6 separate regions of the Homo sapiens genome follow, and regions 2, 3, 4, 5 and 6 are each linked to region 1. The links are contacts of gene promoters, found by promoter capture Hi-C in blood cells and fetal thymus (Javierre and others, 2016). All regions are on one chromosome and are shown on one strand. Each heading gives the region's core, a stretch centred on a gene start or on the middle of the fragment in contact. The rest is flanking DNA. Distances are from core to core; before and after follow the strand shown.

The links. Contacts are between HindIII fragments. The CHiCAGO score rates a contact against its expected background, and 5 or more counts as called.
Region 2: a fragment that was not itself captured here is called in contact with the fragment with the promoter of SGO1 in region 1 in 1 of 17 cell types (M2 macrophages); the score reaches 5.6 in M2 macrophages.
Region 3: a fragment that was not itself captured here is called in contact with the fragment with the promoter of SGO1 in region 1 in 1 of 17 cell types (monocytes); the score reaches 6.2 in monocytes.
Region 4: a contact is called between a fragment that was not itself captured here and the fragment with the promoter of SGO1 in region 1, in 1 of 17 cell types (monocytes). The highest score is 7.4, in monocytes.
Region 5: a contact is called between a fragment that was not itself captured here and the fragment with the promoter of SGO1 in region 1, in 1 of 17 cell types (fetal thymus). The highest score is 5.2, in fetal thymus.
Region 6: a fragment that was not itself captured here is called in contact with the fragment with the promoter of SGO1 in region 1 in 1 of 17 cell types (activated CD4 T cells); the score reaches 5.8 in activated CD4 T cells.

Annotation. Positions count from the first base shown.
Region 1 is chr3:20,184,766-20,187,484 of GRCh38, forward strand. SGO1 (shugoshin 1) reads right to left here and starts at 1,441. Exons shown (of 8, transcript NM_001199251.3): 1 at 1,183-1,441. SGO1-AS1 (SGO1 antisense RNA 1) reads left to right here. Exons shown (of 4, transcript NR_132785.1): 4 at 1,210-1,350. RefSeq lists enhancers at 1,159-1,838, 1,859-1,918. The HindIII fragment of the contact is 754 bases long and covers 965-1,718 here.
Region 2 is chr3:22,091,979-22,094,806 of GRCh38, forward strand. It overlaps a transcript of ZNF385D not described here. Among named protein-coding and RNA genes, the nearest start is that of ZNF385D-AS2, 140 kb to the left of the region's middle. The HindIII fragment of the contact is 2,393 bases long and covers 265-2,657 here.
Region 3 is chr3:18,439,982-18,442,690 of GRCh38, forward strand. It overlaps a transcript of SATB1 not described here. Among named protein-coding and RNA genes, the nearest start is that of SATB1-AS1, 3.9 kb to the right of the region's middle. The HindIII fragment of the contact is 2,874 bases long and covers 1-2,709 here.
Region 4 is chr3:18,744,253-18,746,952 of GRCh38, forward strand. No RefSeq gene overlaps it. Among named protein-coding and RNA genes, the nearest start is that of SATB1-AS1, 300 kb to the left of the region's middle. The HindIII fragment of the contact is 1,226 bases long and covers 797-2,022 here.
Region 5 is chr3:19,138,927-19,141,858 of GRCh38, forward strand. No RefSeq gene overlaps it. Among named protein-coding and RNA genes, the nearest start is that of KCNH8, 8.1 kb to the right of the region's middle. The HindIII fragment of the contact is 1,319 bases long and covers 783-2,101 here.
Region 6 is chr3:18,411,427-18,414,156 of GRCh38, forward strand. All of the region lies in intron 5 of SATB1 (SATB homeobox 1), which reads right to left. Among named protein-coding and RNA genes, the nearest start is that of SATB1, 13 kb to the right of the region's middle. The HindIII fragment of the contact is 3,784 bases long and covers 1-2,730 here.

The DNA of each region.
Region 1 (2,719 bases), core at 191-2,690:
ATTGTTGTACATACAGTTAAACGTTGAGTATTAAATACATAACTATACTTAATCTTTCAACGTTGCAAATCAGGTAGGCTTTAGCATGCTACTAAACATGTCAAACCACTTTTCACAAACATCTTTTACGCTAGATTGCACTTTGCAGATCTTAAAATTGCAAAAAAAAAAGACTTGTTTCCAATAACAATCTATGCACAGAATTTTCACTACAAAGGATATCTTCATCTCCTCTACGATAGTCAAATATTTTCCTAAACCTTACACTTAATCTTGAGTATTTCCTCCAGGCCTTATTTTCCTCTATGCAGTGTCTGGAATCTTAAATATAGGTATTGTAGATACCACTTAAGAACTTTCTTTCTACCAAGGTATATACAATATGTACTGGGAGGTTCCTAGCAGAGATAGGGTAGCTATTTTTAAAAGCACGAACGGTAAAGGGGTTGTTTTACACAATTAAGTTAGAATTGGAGATGTTTGAGAGTCATACAGATTAAGTAACGGATCTAGTTTAGTTAAGGTATTTTAAAGGCAAAGCCTTACCTAAAAAGCTTTCGTTATTACTTTTAATCAAGTTAAAAATCACAAAAGAAACTTGCCATATCAAAAGTTTTATATCCTGTCTAAATAAGGCGATGGTTATTAGCAGGGGGTGTGGTAGACAGAAGGGATGAAAGCAAAGACAGACCACAGCGCGAGATGACGGTCTCAATCTGTACAGTACTCGTGTAAGCGCTCTGGATTTAAAGAACCTAGCATATTTGATCTCCGTCCATAATTCTCCAATTAGTCCTGCTGCGAAGACAGCCAGGTAGGATACTAGTCAGTGCCGGCCTCTCCAGGGTAAGTGAGGAAGAGAATGGCCTGGACAAGGAGGACGTCAACGGTATCACGCTGCACAAAGAACTGCTGTCAATTTTCTTGTGTCCTTACGTTGAGCCAGGCTTTTAGCTATTGTAAAAGCTTTATTTGCACATCACTTAATCTACACAATTTTGCAAAGTAGGAAATTAGGGTCTCCATGGAAGCCGGAACATCTGAAAGCGCAGATCGAGTGGCTGAACGGCGAAAAGCGCGGCGAGTGGGACTCCACGGCCCGAGCTTTCGGCCACCGAATTTAGAATGATACTGAAAACCGAAGGGAAGTCAAACAGGGATCACTACGCCCTTGTTTCGCACCTTAAAACCTACTTCTTCCTCTTTCAGGGACTCCAGGAAGGCCGGGGGGAGGTGGGGCTGGCGGAAGTGGACGCGGCGACCCTCCTGCCGCAGGCGCGTCCAGAACGATACCTTGGCCACTACTTCTGCAACAGCTATCTTCCTCCTCCTCACATTTCAAGGCTCTTCGAAGCTCTCCAGCCACGGCTAGCCCCGCGCACTGGGCCCTCCAGGACCGTACCACCGTCCGCCGTCGCCTGGAACTACCGCCGCCACATTCGAAATTTTCCGCCTCGCTCCTCCATTGGTTGGCTGGGAGGCGGTCACGTGGCGCAGGATGCACCCAACACCACCGTCGCAGGCAGAGTCCCGCCCCGCCAGGCGACGTCACGTGACGCACATTCGCTCAAGTCCACATCCGGGCATCCACCTGGCCCTGGGGCGGAGCCTGCGGTCGGGTCTCGGCGACCCGCCGGGACTTTCTAATCAGAGTCGTGGGGATTTTACGGGTGGAGTTACTCCGAAACCTTTAAGGCCGAGTGTGATAGGTAGTTCAAAGCTTCCTGTTTCTTCAGTCTGACAGCTTCAAATGTCCCGGGTTGTGCTCAAAGCCTCCCTCTTGTGAGAAGAATCTCTTTGGTTGCCTGTTAAAGCGGTCAGCCAGCTTGCAACACGGAAGCAGCTTTTAGAGGAATTAAAACCAAAACAAGGAGCAAATTCTGGATTAAAAAGGTATTAGGGAAACTGCAGATACCTGAAAATTCTAGCTCCATGTTTCTCTTTGCCGGCTATCTCTGGCTCTTTAACTCTTCTCGAGAAATGGCACCAACATCCATCCAGTTACCGACTAGAAGCCTGAGAAATCGTCCTTAATGATTATTTATCCTCTCTTAACCTTTGCCCGTCCAGTCGGTCACACGATCTTCTCAACTCTGCTTTCCAAGTTTCTCTCATGCCCATCTTTTTCCCCCCAATCCAGCTTCCAGCCTAATCTCATTCCCTAAATTGCACTAGTACCCACTCTGACCGCAGACTCCACTCCCTATATTCTTCATAGATTAATATTTTTACAAAACAAGTATCAAATAGGAAACTTTACAATGGCTCCCTATTGCATTTAAGGTGAATTTCAAACTCCTTTAAGATATTTTGTCCTTAAAGAGCCCCATGATTCCTGGTTCCATCACTTGTACATTTTCTTTAATTTTCTTAAAATTCTTGCCACTTTTGCCAATGCTGTTCTGTCAAGAACACTCTTTCCCTTGGCCGAACTTACTCCTATGTATACTGAAGTTTCACTGTACAGATGAATTCTTCCAGAAAGACTTATCTACCCCTAAAGCCCCTGAGTGTCTGCTTTACACTTTCTTAGTGCCCTGCATTTTCCCCTTGGTATTCCTTGTGACACTGACTTGTCGTTCATTGCCTGTTTCTTGAAGTTGAATAAGGGCAGGAACTACATCTGCTTTGTTCATAGCTAAATTGTCAGCATCTCGTTGCAATTTGAAGTAAGTAGTAAATATTCACTGGGACAATAAAGGAACAAATAAATGAAAAC
Region 2 (2,828 bases), core at 211-2,710, 1.9 Mb after region 1:
TTTTGGAAAAGGATGAAAAATACCTTCACTTTCAGGAAGAACATTTATAACTTATTAGGTGGAAATACAGAGTTGTTTCACTTTTGAATAAAAGTTCAAGATTGAATAGAAGAGTGAATATGGAAACTGAGTAACCAAAGGCATGCACTGTCCTAGTCATCACTTTATTGTCTCTTGGTTGAAAGTTCACAATTTACTGCTTTATTTCTGACAGTGGGGCTGGAACCTGTAAACATTCCTTCTTTGCCAGTCAGGATAATGTTAAGCTTTGTTAGTAGAAGCTACTAAGGGGGAAATTGAAGGATGAATGGGTTTCTCTCCCAGGTTCTTTTATGCTTCTTGACGTTGGCTCCTACAACACAGCTTGTTTCTACAAAGCCTGTCCAGCCACATCCACAGCTTTTGCAGGGCCAGCTCCAGGTATCCAGACAGTGCTGACTCTGAAACCCCATCAGTTGCCTTCATGACAGAGTGCTGCTTGTATGACACCTATCTGTGGATGGCTTCTACTGATATCTTCCTGAGTACTTTGCAGCCTCAGCAAACCCTGCCATGCAGATGTTCATGGCTATGCCCTCTCCAATGAATCTGGATCGGTATGGTGTGTGGAAGCTGGTTCCAGACCCTCTTGCTTCTATTATGTATCAATTCAGCCTTATGGGTAGTGGCCCCTATAATTTGCTATTACTCTATTATTAACAGTTCTGTTTATTCTTTGCTAGCAAATCCCCTCTTACAGTTAATAATTTTTGATATTAAGATTACTGTCTGGTAACCTTAACCTGATGTTTATCTTCTGGATCCTGACTGATATACCTCTTACAGTTTTGATATTTTTAGTTTGAGAAAAAAAGAAAGTACTAACATTAAGGTCTGATTGTTAGTCTTCCAGGAATTATTAATTTTTTAGTTCTCTATTATTTATAACTCATCTATTCTTGAAATTACTAAAGCAAATTAGATATAATATTTTGAATGTTATTTAAATAAAATTAACGCAAATAAACTTATCAAAACTTAGCTGAGCCCAGCATCCAGGAGCAGGAAGGTCATAGCTCCCACACCCTAAAGTGGGACAACGTAGAGTCATAAGACAAAGAGTGTGGATAGTGGGAGAAGTGAAGTGTTGGTGCCAAATGAAACAATTTATTGCATTTAATAAAGAGTTAGAAAAACACCCTGAGGAAAAAAAAAGTTGTTAATTGTGTCTAAATCACTTAGTTTTAAGACTACTGACTTTACTATTTTTATAGAAATAAAACATTTTTTAGAAAAAAGTAAACCCAACATCTAAAACTTTTAGAAGGTATAGGCTTTTAATATATGCGCATTGACCTAGACATTTAACTACATATGGATACAAATAAAATATTATTAAATACATATAAAATATAGTTATAATTTAATAAAAGTGCAATTTAAGTAAAACATTAAATTTATTTTACTTAATTTAAAAAAGTTAAAGGAAATCAAAGTAAACAGAATGGCTGAACAAAATTTATCTTTCACAAAGGATAATATTAAAGGTCTATTTATTTATAAGCAAAAAACAGTTTGAAAACTACTAGAGGTTCGAGGATTATGTGGTTTAAATTACACATTTTATCCTCATTCATTATACGAGTTGACAACCTACTATAAAAAATAAGAAAGATTGTGATCACTCACCTCTGTCTTCCCACTCACCCTTTTTCCTAATTTTTATTTCTGCTACTCATGTTACTACTTTTATTATTTTTATTTTTTCAGGGATTAATAACATTTACAATCATATAATTATTATGGTCTATAATTCCCACAGTTGTTTAGCATTAGTTCCATATTAATAGGGATTCCAAGCAAGTTTTGTACTAAGATTTACTATATGTGCAGAAAAGTACACATACAGTAAACGTTAAGCTCGCTAACACTTTATAAATGAAGACATCAATATATCCACACAGAACATTACTAGCACTCCAAACAGCTCCCCACCCACTTGGTTCCATCCGTATTCCAGGGAAACTAGCACCTTGATTTCTAAAATAATACCAATTTAACGCTTTACAAATTTTAATAAGTGGGTTGACTGGATTTTATTGTCAATATTTTTAATAAAAGGCTATTGCTGTTGAATTCTCTAAGTTATTTCATGTTTAAAAATACGTGTCATTGCTTTAATGTCTTCCGGCATCAAATATTCTAATTTTCCTTTCTACCAATTATATTATTCATCTTTTGGTTGTTCATATTGCATTGTCAAGTAGCATTTTTTTTTCAAAAATTCTCATGGCTATGTGAGTTCCTCAATACATGTATTTATCCTTGAATGCACACTTGGCTAGGTATTTTATTCTTAAGTTGTACCCTTTTTTTTCTTTCAGAAATGTGCAGGCATTTTACCATTGTCTTCTGTCATTTATTGTTGATATATATATATATATATATATATAAAGGCATTTGTGTCATATGAGTCCTCCAAGAAAAAGACACACAGACAGACTTAGAAATGCCAGACATTGATTGAGGGTAACTCCCATGAAATAGAAAAGAAAGGTGGCAATCAGAGTAAGACATAGGCCAGACACACATGAAAGCAGAGGTGGAAGGAAGAAGTGAATATGAAGGGCCTGGAACTAAGGTGTGGTTTTGAGGACATCTCAGCCATCCCAGTGAGAAGCTTTGGTTCAAAGACTGCCCAGAGAGGAGCCCTGGGCTGGGAGAAGATGGCTAGTCATGAGAATACCAGACATGCTCAGTAGGTTACTGAGGTGGCCACACTGGGAAATGTGTGATTTTGTGTCAAATGCTGTCACAGATCTTTAAAAGAGTACAGCTGTAGGTTGTCA
Region 3 (2,709 bases), core at 181-2,680, 1.7 Mb before region 1:
CGAGTCAATCAATAAATCAATCAATGAGCCCCACTTTATATTCATATTTTCAGAACTCCATTAAAAACTTAAACATTCCATCTAAGACTTGGAAGAGGAGACACTTTATTGAAGTTATTATCTGAGGAATCAAATAGTTTAATCTTTTTGGAACTTTGTAGAAAGTTAATTTAGCAAAACACATTTGAATGTGTTTGAACATATTTATCCTGAGGTTGCTTTAAGATGACTATTTTAAGTGGCATGCAGATTCTTTTGGGGTTTTGATGTTATAGTTGAGGTATGCAAAGTAAAAGTGCATAACATTTCTTTCAACTGGTTCTCACATGACAGAAATGAAAAGATGAAATTACTTGTCTTTAAAGTTTTGCCATAGGGAAATGATAAGAAAAACTCCTCTCGACCCCTATCCCCAACCAGGAAGAGTCTGAAGCCCTGGATTATAGCACAGGTAGATATTAAAATGGAGACAGAGCCGTTATTTAGTGGTGACAGGAATATAAATACGTGCACTAAACTATAAACTGGTATTTACTTCAGGAAGGTAAGTAATATTTTTCCTCTGATTGCTGCACTGTCAGTTTAATGCAGCGTAAATAAACAGTAGGTGCCTGCTAGCTCGAAGTAGGAAGTGTTCATTCCACACGAGGAACAGATTACTGAAGCCTGATGCTCATCATGCTGAAACATAACTTTCATTTTACCAGAAAATATACCCTACTGTGGATGATTTTTCGTGCCTGATCTATTAATTAACTTAACTCTGTTCTGTCAAAATGTAAACCAATTTGTAAAAATCATCACAGAGTTTTGGAGTTTGAAAACCAAATCAATTTGAAAAGCAAGAGTAATGACTGTTCTGTAATCTGATCACAAATGCTAAAAATGAATACTTAATATAATAAGCACAAACCACACAAAACTGAAAAAGACGAAAAACATTTTGAAATATCATAGAACTTAATCCAAGTTATCTGATTTACTCGAGATAGTCCTCATTTGTTAATTAAAAGCACCTGGCACCTTTAATATTTTGCAGCCTTGTGCCACTTTGGTCTTTTCAATATGTATGCTTATTCTGCTCTCTGAAATATCTGAAGGTAAACCATTCATAAAAATCAAACCCCATTCCTTAATTCCAATAGAAATATTGCTGAACTCTCCTGAGAGAAGCGGCAAGTTTGAAGATCAAATGATGATATCCTTCCTAACAGCATTCATGTAAAACGTGTTTTTTCTATTTTATGTATGCCACAAAGCTATGACAGTATATAGCAACTAATTTTCTTTTTATATATGAGTACTGAGCAAAATATTTCGTGGCAGCATTTAAAATAAGAACCCATCTTATCTAAAAAGTGTAAAAGGCAATCTGGGGAGGTTTCTATTTATAACATGAACAAAATTCTGATAATCAATATATTGAAAAGGGAAAAGAGATTAAAAACATTTTTGCATTCAACTACATCATGTCTAGAAATAGTCTGAAGATTGCTTTAGTCATATGCATTTATTTTAAATACTTCATCAATTCCAAGTGCTAATATATTAATTACAGCCATCCAAGACAATATGTATGGAAGAAACTATGTGTGTAAAGGGCATATCTATGTATAGCCCTTTTGGAAATTTACAGAACAGATGAAAACCCACTAGAGTGCTTTATAGAGTCCCTGCTGTATATCCATGTTGTGTTTAGCTTAACAGTGTTTGTAACCAAAATATTTTTACAATAATGAGGAACAGGTGCCTGTCACCTGACCTTTTAGGCCTAATTTACAATCCACAACCTGTCATATGAAAAAGAACTAAAAATTCTCCTCCAGATATTTTAGTCTTTACTAAGTTAATGTAGTATTTCTTTACCATCACTCAGCATATCATGTCTTATTTAATCACAGGTTCATATAGCTGGCAACAGATTTCTTTGCAGAAATAAACCAATATTCATTTTGTTGTCGTTCTTAAGATGCTGGGAGACAAAAGAACTACTTTTGTAGATTATCAACCAAAGAATATATTAATTTCTTACAAATCTGAACAAAAAACATTCCTTTTGAATACTTTTACATACAAAGAACTATTATTTATTACATATTTCAGCTTGTGGGAAAGTGAGGAATGCATTGATTCTGGAAATAACTATTCAGACTTTTGGAAGTTATTTAGGTCTTCTTTCTCTATCTTCCCCCCGCCCCCCATCCTGCCCTCCCACCAAATTTTAAGGAGGTAGTACTTTAGGAGGGAAATCCCTATTCGTTATTTTTTCATATATTATTTATATTCATTATTCAGAAATAAATACAAAATTGAATTGTAATTTTATTTCTCTTGTATAATGTTAGATGTAGCATTATCCAAATTTGACAATGCCTTGTATTTTATAGCTACTGTTTAAATATTATGTATTACCTATGACTGAACAACTCTACATTTAAAATATTGTTTTCATTAGAAAAAACTATGAAGTAGTAAGTGTCAAATGAAGATGAAGAATAAACATATTTGGTATATTTATAAAATGCATAGTCATTTAAAACGTGTACAAATAGAATACATAGTTTGCTACTGTTACATTTTATATAGTATACACATTGTCTACAGTGTATTTAATAATGTGCTTAACCAAGTTAATTAAAGTATTTATGTCTGATGATTGTGTAATAAACACTTGGAGAGGTAGTGAAAGATACAGCCAGTTACTTCTGC
Region 4 (2,700 bases), core at 160-2,659, 1.4 Mb before region 1:
TGTCAACTATCCTTTTAGATATTGAATGAATACACACATACTCTCTTTCCCTCTCTCATAAACGCACACACAGACACACACTCACACTCACACAGCCATAATAATTATTTTACTTTCTCTCAAGTGAAACTACATTTATTCCACTCCATTTTGAGGGGAAGAGGCAGCAAGTGATTGGGGCTAAAGAGTCTGGTTAGCAGAAAATGATAGAGAGTTGGGGCTGTGGGAAGAGCAAGGAAAAAAACCACACCTTGCAACAAACACTCAATGCTGGGTTGATGGACTAGAAGCTTTTTCCCCCCTTTAGAAACAAAAGTAAGAGCCAAGTAACTAATGACTAGTGATATGAATTACCAGTATCAGGACACTAAGTTCTGGCCCCACTCCACTGTGACCTTTGATATGGCTTTAGGCAGATCACTTTGCCAATCTGTGCTTTCAGTTTTCTCATCTGTGAAATGCGTTTAATCATATTGACTTGTTTCCCAGGGAAGTAATGTGATATATTAATATTTGTGGAGCACTTTGAGATCTGATGATAAAAGGTGCATTACACTAAGTAGTGTTTGCTTCTCTCCTTGTCTCCTTACCCCCAACAGATAATCTATACTCCTATCATATGCATATTTTTGCAAAGTTCATGTAAATGACTCCGGGCTGTTTTATTTTTAAAAAATTAATGCTGTGATGTTTCTCCAGAATCTGACAAAACCATAAAAAATAAAAAGAGTAGCAGTGGCATACTATGAAGGTTAAAGTCTTGTAAAAATCCGTAAGAAAACAGATTTCTGTTCTAAGCTTGTGTGGGGTTATTATAAGCAACAGTCAGTAATAATGATTACAAAAATGAGGAAAAATACATTGACAGTGTCATTTGAAAACAATTGTGTTAAGAGGCTTTTTACACTCATTTTACACAGTGTAGGTATCCAAAATGGGTTTTAGAGGATATTAAAAGGATTGTTTTTCAAGGTATTAAGTGTGCGAAGAACAAGAATGAAAAAGAGAGAGTTGGCTGATGGAACTCAGCTCAGAGAAATGACCTAGCCACACAGTGTGGAGGGAAGGTGTAACAATTACTTCCTCTCTGGGCTTTTAGCAGTTCAAATATCTTTAAACAAGAAGAGATTGCCTTTTACATGTAATTCAACCTAAAATATTTTCTTCGTTTTTCCCCTCTTGCAGTTTCTCTAGACATTTGCAAACTCTTGATATTGGAAGTGAACTACATTTCATTGTTATTGATTTGATTGGCAAAAAGTGTGAGCAACATAGTTCCTCTTTTCCAATCCCTAATATCTTTCTGCTTCTCTCTCATCCCACTTCAAAAAAGTTCCTCATCTTCCCTTCCGTATCTTAGTTAATGTAACCATCCTTCTTCCGTTCAGCCAGACTGGAAACCACAGCCTTCTCTGACCTCATCATGATGCTATATGTCATACCTAATGTCCCAACAGTGTCCTTAAATGACCACTTCTCGGAATTTAATGCAGCACACGTGAATGACCTAAAGATCTTATACGAATGCAGATTTTGATTCTGGAGGTCTTGGATGGGCCCGACAGTCTGCATTTCTAATAAGCTCCCAGGTTGTGGCCATGTTGCTGGTGCATGAACCATAATATGACTGGCTAGGCATTAACCTTCGTTTTCAGGCAAGACTTTGGCTGTCTACTGATACAATTCTCTCTTCTTTTTTAGAAAAATATCCAACCCGAGCAGGATAAAACTGATCATCCTGAGGATATTGCCCTTGGAGTTAATTTTTTGAGAGAAATAAAACAATAAACATCATAAGACACAAACCCCAAGCAACTGGTGAGTAAATGGAGCTTCTCTATCACTCATATTCTCTTCTCGGACAGCTGTTTGCATTCCACTCCCTTACACATTGTTGTATGTTCTGTTTTGTCATAATGTATTCCTTTAACCATTTTTCTGAGAGTACACTATGTGTGAAACACTCAACTACACTCAAGGAATAAAAAAAAAATTAAATGGTATGATGTCCCACCACCAACAAGCTTATAATCTTACAAAGAAAAGAGCCAAGTAAGCAAAGAAATACAGTGAAGTGTAATATTTCCCTATGCCTAGAATATTCTTACTGTTCTGAACTCCTTTCCCATCCCCAAATCCTCACTGCCACACACACACTTTGTACCATAGCAACATTAAACCATGTTATGTAATACTCTAATACAAGTCATAATTTTAATCCCAAGAAATGTTGCATTATCAATAATCCAATTTCTATGCATTATCAAAAATTGTGATATAATAATTGTTCTAATGAAAGGTATTATGGTTTTGAGGCTGGATGGTTTTCAGGTTTATAAGGACTGAGAATTCCAGCAACAAATATGACCCTAAATATATATAACAAAACTTAAAAATTGCTGAGAAAATGTAGTTAGTACAACACTATAGTAACAGCCCTGGTCATAAAGAAAATTCAAATGTAGCACCACTGGTGATTGGCTTCCATTCTCATTCCATTGCCTGTTCTCAAATGGAGAACAGTGGGGCATGGATGGAGGTGGAGGGTGATTCTTGGGTGGGAGGCAAAGAGCAGCCAGGAAGATCCATCTTGGGAAGTACAGAGGCAGAATGTAGGCTCCGGGGAGTTCTCACTCCTCTTAGCCCATTTTTTCCAGAGTGGGATGGTGAAATTGGCATTTGCTACTCAGAAGATTCCTG
Region 5 (2,932 bases), core at 192-2,691, 1.0 Mb before region 1:
GCGCAGATAAAACTAGGTCAGAAGATATACAACATCTATTATGAAAGCAAATGCTTCTATTTTGAGTGGCATTCAAATTAGGCTGAAGTGGAAAGTGGGTATGTGTGTGTTAGTCATGCAAAGAAGGTCTGGGAAGCACTTTTCATGAAGTGAGGTTATCATAATCAAAGTCATAGTCTCTAGAGGAGCACTGTGTATTTTAGGAACTTCTAGGAATTGTGTTTTCCTTGAGTATAAATTTTGAGGATGGTGAGAAATGAGCCATGGCAAATAAGATGGGCTCATAATCCCAGAGGCAAAATGAAGGGTGACATGCTCAGATTTGCCTTTTATTAAAATCATGCTAGCTACATTGTAAAGAAAGGCTTAGAGGCTAGGCAAGGTGGTTCACACTTGTACTCCCAGTGATTTGGGAGGCCAAGGCAGGAGGATCACTTCAGGGCAGGAGTTTGAGACCAATATAGCAAAGATCTGTCTCTACAATATATATATATATATATTTTTTTTTAATAGCTGGGTGTGTGGTGCATGCCTGTAGTCCTAGCTACTTAGCAGGCTGAGGTGGGAGGATCACCTGAGTTCAGGAGTTAGAGGTTACAGGGAGCTATGATTTCACCACTGCACTCCAGTCTGGACAATAGACTGGAGCCAAATATGGCTCTTAGATATAAGAATAAGGACTACTTGGGATCTCACATAGATTACTTGGTGGTATACACAGAAGTTTATGTGAAATAAATAGTTAAGGAGTAATATCGAGAGCACAATTAGGTATTGTCAGAAGCTTAGAGGCCTGGGTTTCAGAAAAAGATTAGGAAAGTGTTCTCAGAAAGGAAATATTTAAAATATGACAGTAACTGAAATGTAGAGTTTAGTGGCCCAGTTTATGGAGTCTTGAGGGAGACTAGAATATAAAGATAGGCTAAGGGAAGAGGGTTTTTTTTTTCTTTTTTCAAGAAACCCAACCATTCAACAGAAAAGACTCTTTCTGTTCAAAACAATAAAGTTTTCTATTTTAGAAATTTAGAAAGTTTTAAGAAGGAATTGACAGAGTCAAAGACAACAAAAAATTAGGAATATATGGATTGAAAATGTCCATTATTTTAGAAAATTACGTCATTATTGACTTTGATAAATCTTTTTAGAATGGTTGAAGAAGCAACAAGATCAAAATAATTTTAGATGGATTTTCAGGAAATTTACATGTAAAAGAAATGTGAAAGATCAGATAGATCAAGGAAGGATATGTCTCAGGATTAGAATAGCTGGAATATTTATAGGTTGAGAGAACAAACAAGTAGTGAGAGAAAAAGAGACAGAAACAAAGATATAGGACAGAAGGGGAGGACAAATGGAACATGATTCTGGAAACAGACAATGAAAATTTCAGGTGGCTGTGTATTACTTTTGGAGAGAACACCTAATCTTCTGGAAGAAAAGAAAGTAGGATGGACACAGTGTATACATACACTGGTACAGGAGAGAGCAAAAATGGAAGGTATTTACCATTAAGGTCTGATGAGACTGGGATTCCAGTGTTTGTGTAACAAGCCTGAACAGAGTATTGAAAATTGGATAGGCACTGAGGGACATGTTGTTTCCTGTGGCAGGAAATTTTCAAAACAAGAGAAAGATGGTGAGATTTAATAAATAAATAAGCAGTATTATCTCCACTTTTCACCTTCCACTCTTCCAAAGAGGCTCAGATTCATTGAATGGCAGTAAGATATGGAATGTATTCCTCCTTATGTAACTTGACCACTGTGAAAATTTATAAGAGTTGAGAATACTATTGGTTGAAACCATGTACCTCTTGGAATCTACTACTGAACTATTGCCCAAGGTCTGTTGCAGTGACCTGAATTCTGAAGGTGGGAATATATGCGGAATTACCTAAAATAGTAATACCTTGCATTTATTGAGTTATTACTATAATTCGGTCATTATTCTGTGTGTTTTATATTATTCAGTCATTTAAATATCACGAAAAGTCTGAGTTGGTGGTATCATCTTTTATTTTTATAGAGGGGATTTGGCAGAGTACTTTCCGGGTGCTCTTTCTCATAGGTGAGTAAAAGCATATGAGTAATTCTGGTCAGTAAGCTTTAGGAAGAGGTGATGTGTATAATTTCTGGGTTGAATCACAGGATAGCAGGTGACTTTTCTGTTCAGTGATCATGATGGAGGCCTCTGTTTCTGGATGTGCAACTGTAACATGGATGAGTGTCCATCAGCCTGAGTGCCTGAGTAATTGTGTAAAGAAGAGCCCCCTCTATTGCTTTATAAGTGATAATTACATTTTGGTGGTTAACTTACTTAAACTTGAGGTAGGGTATTAATTTGCTACCACAAAATAATCTAACATAGCCTGACTAACAAGTGATCAAAATGAGAGATATAGCACTAAATCATAGGGTAAGTAAGTACTTCTTCACTTTCCTCTGCAATGGAGAGATGGGGACAAATACGGCTCTTAGGAATCTGCTACAGAGCTAACAGCTCCAGGTCTACTGCAGTGATCTGAATCCCTAAGATTTTCTACCATGCCCATGGTAGACATTATTAATTGTTCTTCAACTCTCTTGATGAGTCTGGGAGCCATCTAGGAATTATTTTCAATACAGAAAGCCTAGTAGTTGCTATTAATTTTTAGGATTGAAGTGTATATAAAACCTGCATGTCATCCATATTATGGACGTTTGTTCATGTCACACCTTGTTTCTAACTGCCTTTGAAATATGTGGCAGAAGATCTAGGTAGGTTGGTTGACCCACACGCATTCTTAAACTGTTAGACCTTGCTTCTTTCTTTTATAAATCCTGGGTAATTAATCACTTCCACATTCTTTTTGTAGCTAAAGACATCTTTATTACACAGTGTTAGCTAATGAGAAATAGCAGAAATGTCCTGAGAGGAAAAGGAGGTTTTCCCA
Region 6 (2,730 bases), core at 184-2,683, 1.8 Mb before region 1:
TAACAAAATGAATCTACCCTGTATCAGAATGTATATACATTTATCTAGTTTTTAAATGCAATTTCTAAAACTCCAGGGAAAATAAGCATCAAAATGTTAATGTTTTATTATAAATAAAAATGTTTACTTTTTAAATTCCCAATTTTCCTCCCAAATCCATATCCTCAAAAGTTTCATGACTACAGGCTCTCTTGTCCCCAAATCAGTGTTTATTCTCTCCTTAGCTGCAGTTCAGAATGCACCATCCAACTTATCTAACCACATCCACCGAAAAAAACAAAAGTAACAACAAAACATCTAACCTCAGACCTATAATGAGCTAAGTGTTTCTTATGTCTTAGAACATTTTACAAAAATAAAAAAACACATGGTACAAAGAATTTAATAAATTAGTGTCAATCGATTTGGGCAGATTTATGATAGGAAAGTGATAACAGAAATAAAGGTATGAGTTGTAAATCAAACTAAGCCCACTTATGGAATTTCTGCAGCTGAAGAAAACCTTATGAATATCATCAAAGAAAACATTATTGTACCCAAATGTAAGTATTCCTTTTTTTTTTTGAAACGGAGTCTCGTTCTGTCACCAAACTAGAGTGCAGTGGTGCTATCTCGGCTAACTGCAACCTCCGCCTCCTGGGTTCAAGCAATTCTCCTGCCTCAGCCTCCCAAGTAGCTAAATCAGCACTTTAAAATTTATTGTCAGGCAAGGACATAGGCTTAGCAAGTCAGGACTTTCTTGTTAGTCATTGCACCGTGACTTTAATCTCCAGGGACACTGGCTCCTTCAATTATCAAAAGGAGGAGCCTAGGAAGGATAATCCCTTCTGGTTCTAAGAATCCAAGTCCAAATGGACATTTGCTTAGCAAGTATTAGACAATCGTCCTAAGAGCATTGGAGGCAGGGCTTATTCAACACCCCAGGCAAAATCCTGGTGGCTCCCCAGTTCCACTCCTCCTGGCCCCTGCTCTATAAAAGGAATTTACCTGCCCACAGGGTGAACTTTCTACTAACTATAATATTTAGGGCCCCTGTAGCCATACTTGCTACTGGAGTACTTTATCATATTCAACAAAATAAAACCCTTACTGTACAGTAAAATGTGTATGGTGTATTGCATGCTAAAGGTTCTCTCCCATGAATGAATCAACACTCCACAGGGGAAGAAAGGGCTTAACACTTGGCATTTCTTGGTGTTAGGTCCCATTTTGCTCAAGACTGAGGCCATATTTATTTGCTAGGCTTTTTTCACCATGACATCTTCATCACCAAATCTTAACCATAGGAAAAAGAGTAGTTTTGTCAAACTTGGCATATATTTTGGACATAGGCTTTAGGGAACTTGCATCTCTCATTTTAATAACTCTAGACAGAAAAACATAATAAAGAAGCAAACAGAAAACAGTTTATGTTGAAAAAATTCTGACTGGAGTATCAGATTCATAGAAAAAGAGAAGATGATTCAGCAAAATATAAAATAAGTACCTCATTTAGAGAACAATTTACATGTTTTCATATTATTAAATATTAATTTCAAATATTTGCTTTCACTCCTAAACTATGCATAATTTTTAGAAGTTTTTTTATGGAAAAGAATACTGCAATTATAACTGATGTTGATATTGTAGCCTAGTTCCATCACTTAATGATTACAGTGAGGTATCCAGCCACAGGAAGCCATATATCTGAAAACCTCTCTCTATAGAAATTCACCAATGTATGACTCCAAAACCAAGTCCTGAATTACATTTTGTCATTCTACTTAATGTTATAATTGTATGCAATTCATTTTCCATGATAACATTAAGTAAATTCACAATTCTATTTATAAGTTATAGTGAGGTAGAGTTTATTGGCTGAATGTTGATGTCATTTAACAATTAGTTCTCACTGACTGTATCAATAAATATTTGTAACGACAGCCTCTTCTTCAGCTCATAGTAAATGCCTTAAGTATTTGTCTGAATATACTTCCAAGATCAATGGGACATTTAGTAACATAAAGACACATGCGATTCCAGTACTGGGTGTTTACATCATATTTTAACTGAGTTTTTAAAAAGTTTATTTCTAGATCATTTCAAATTTTCATATGTTAGCAACCATGTAACATGTTATCTGGAGTTGTCTGCGAAACAAAGTCCCTGAAGTAAGAGTCACCCTTTTATTCTATCATCCTATTCATTTGTGATTAATTTAAATTATTTTTATTTGATGGTTATAAATTCATATCCTCTCTATTCCAAGGGTGAGAGAGGGAAGACAGGAGATTAGCTGTAGGTATAACTGAAATGACAAATAAGAGTTTTCTCTGAATTGCAAGAAATGGACACTTAACAATACAGAGAATATGTAACCTGTGGCTATAGCTTATTTTAGAATATATAGAAAGCTATTAATTATAAACAATTCATTTGCTTCATTCCTAAAATTTCTAGCAAATATCAAAGTAAAAGTGTTGGAACGTAACTTAGCAAATCTGAAATGCATGGAGTTTCTATGAAACAGAAGCACAAAGCTGACAAGATTCCCTTCAAAGGTACCCAATAATCTTCATAAGCCTCACATTAGAAACACATTTTGAGAATATCTGCTACTCAGAATATAGCAGAAATACACTTTGAGATCTCTCCACTGCAGAAATGTTTACAGCAGCATCCTACAGTTCAAGTTCAAATGGCTAAGACTAATATTCAGAATTAAAACTCAAATTAAAAGAAAACATTAAA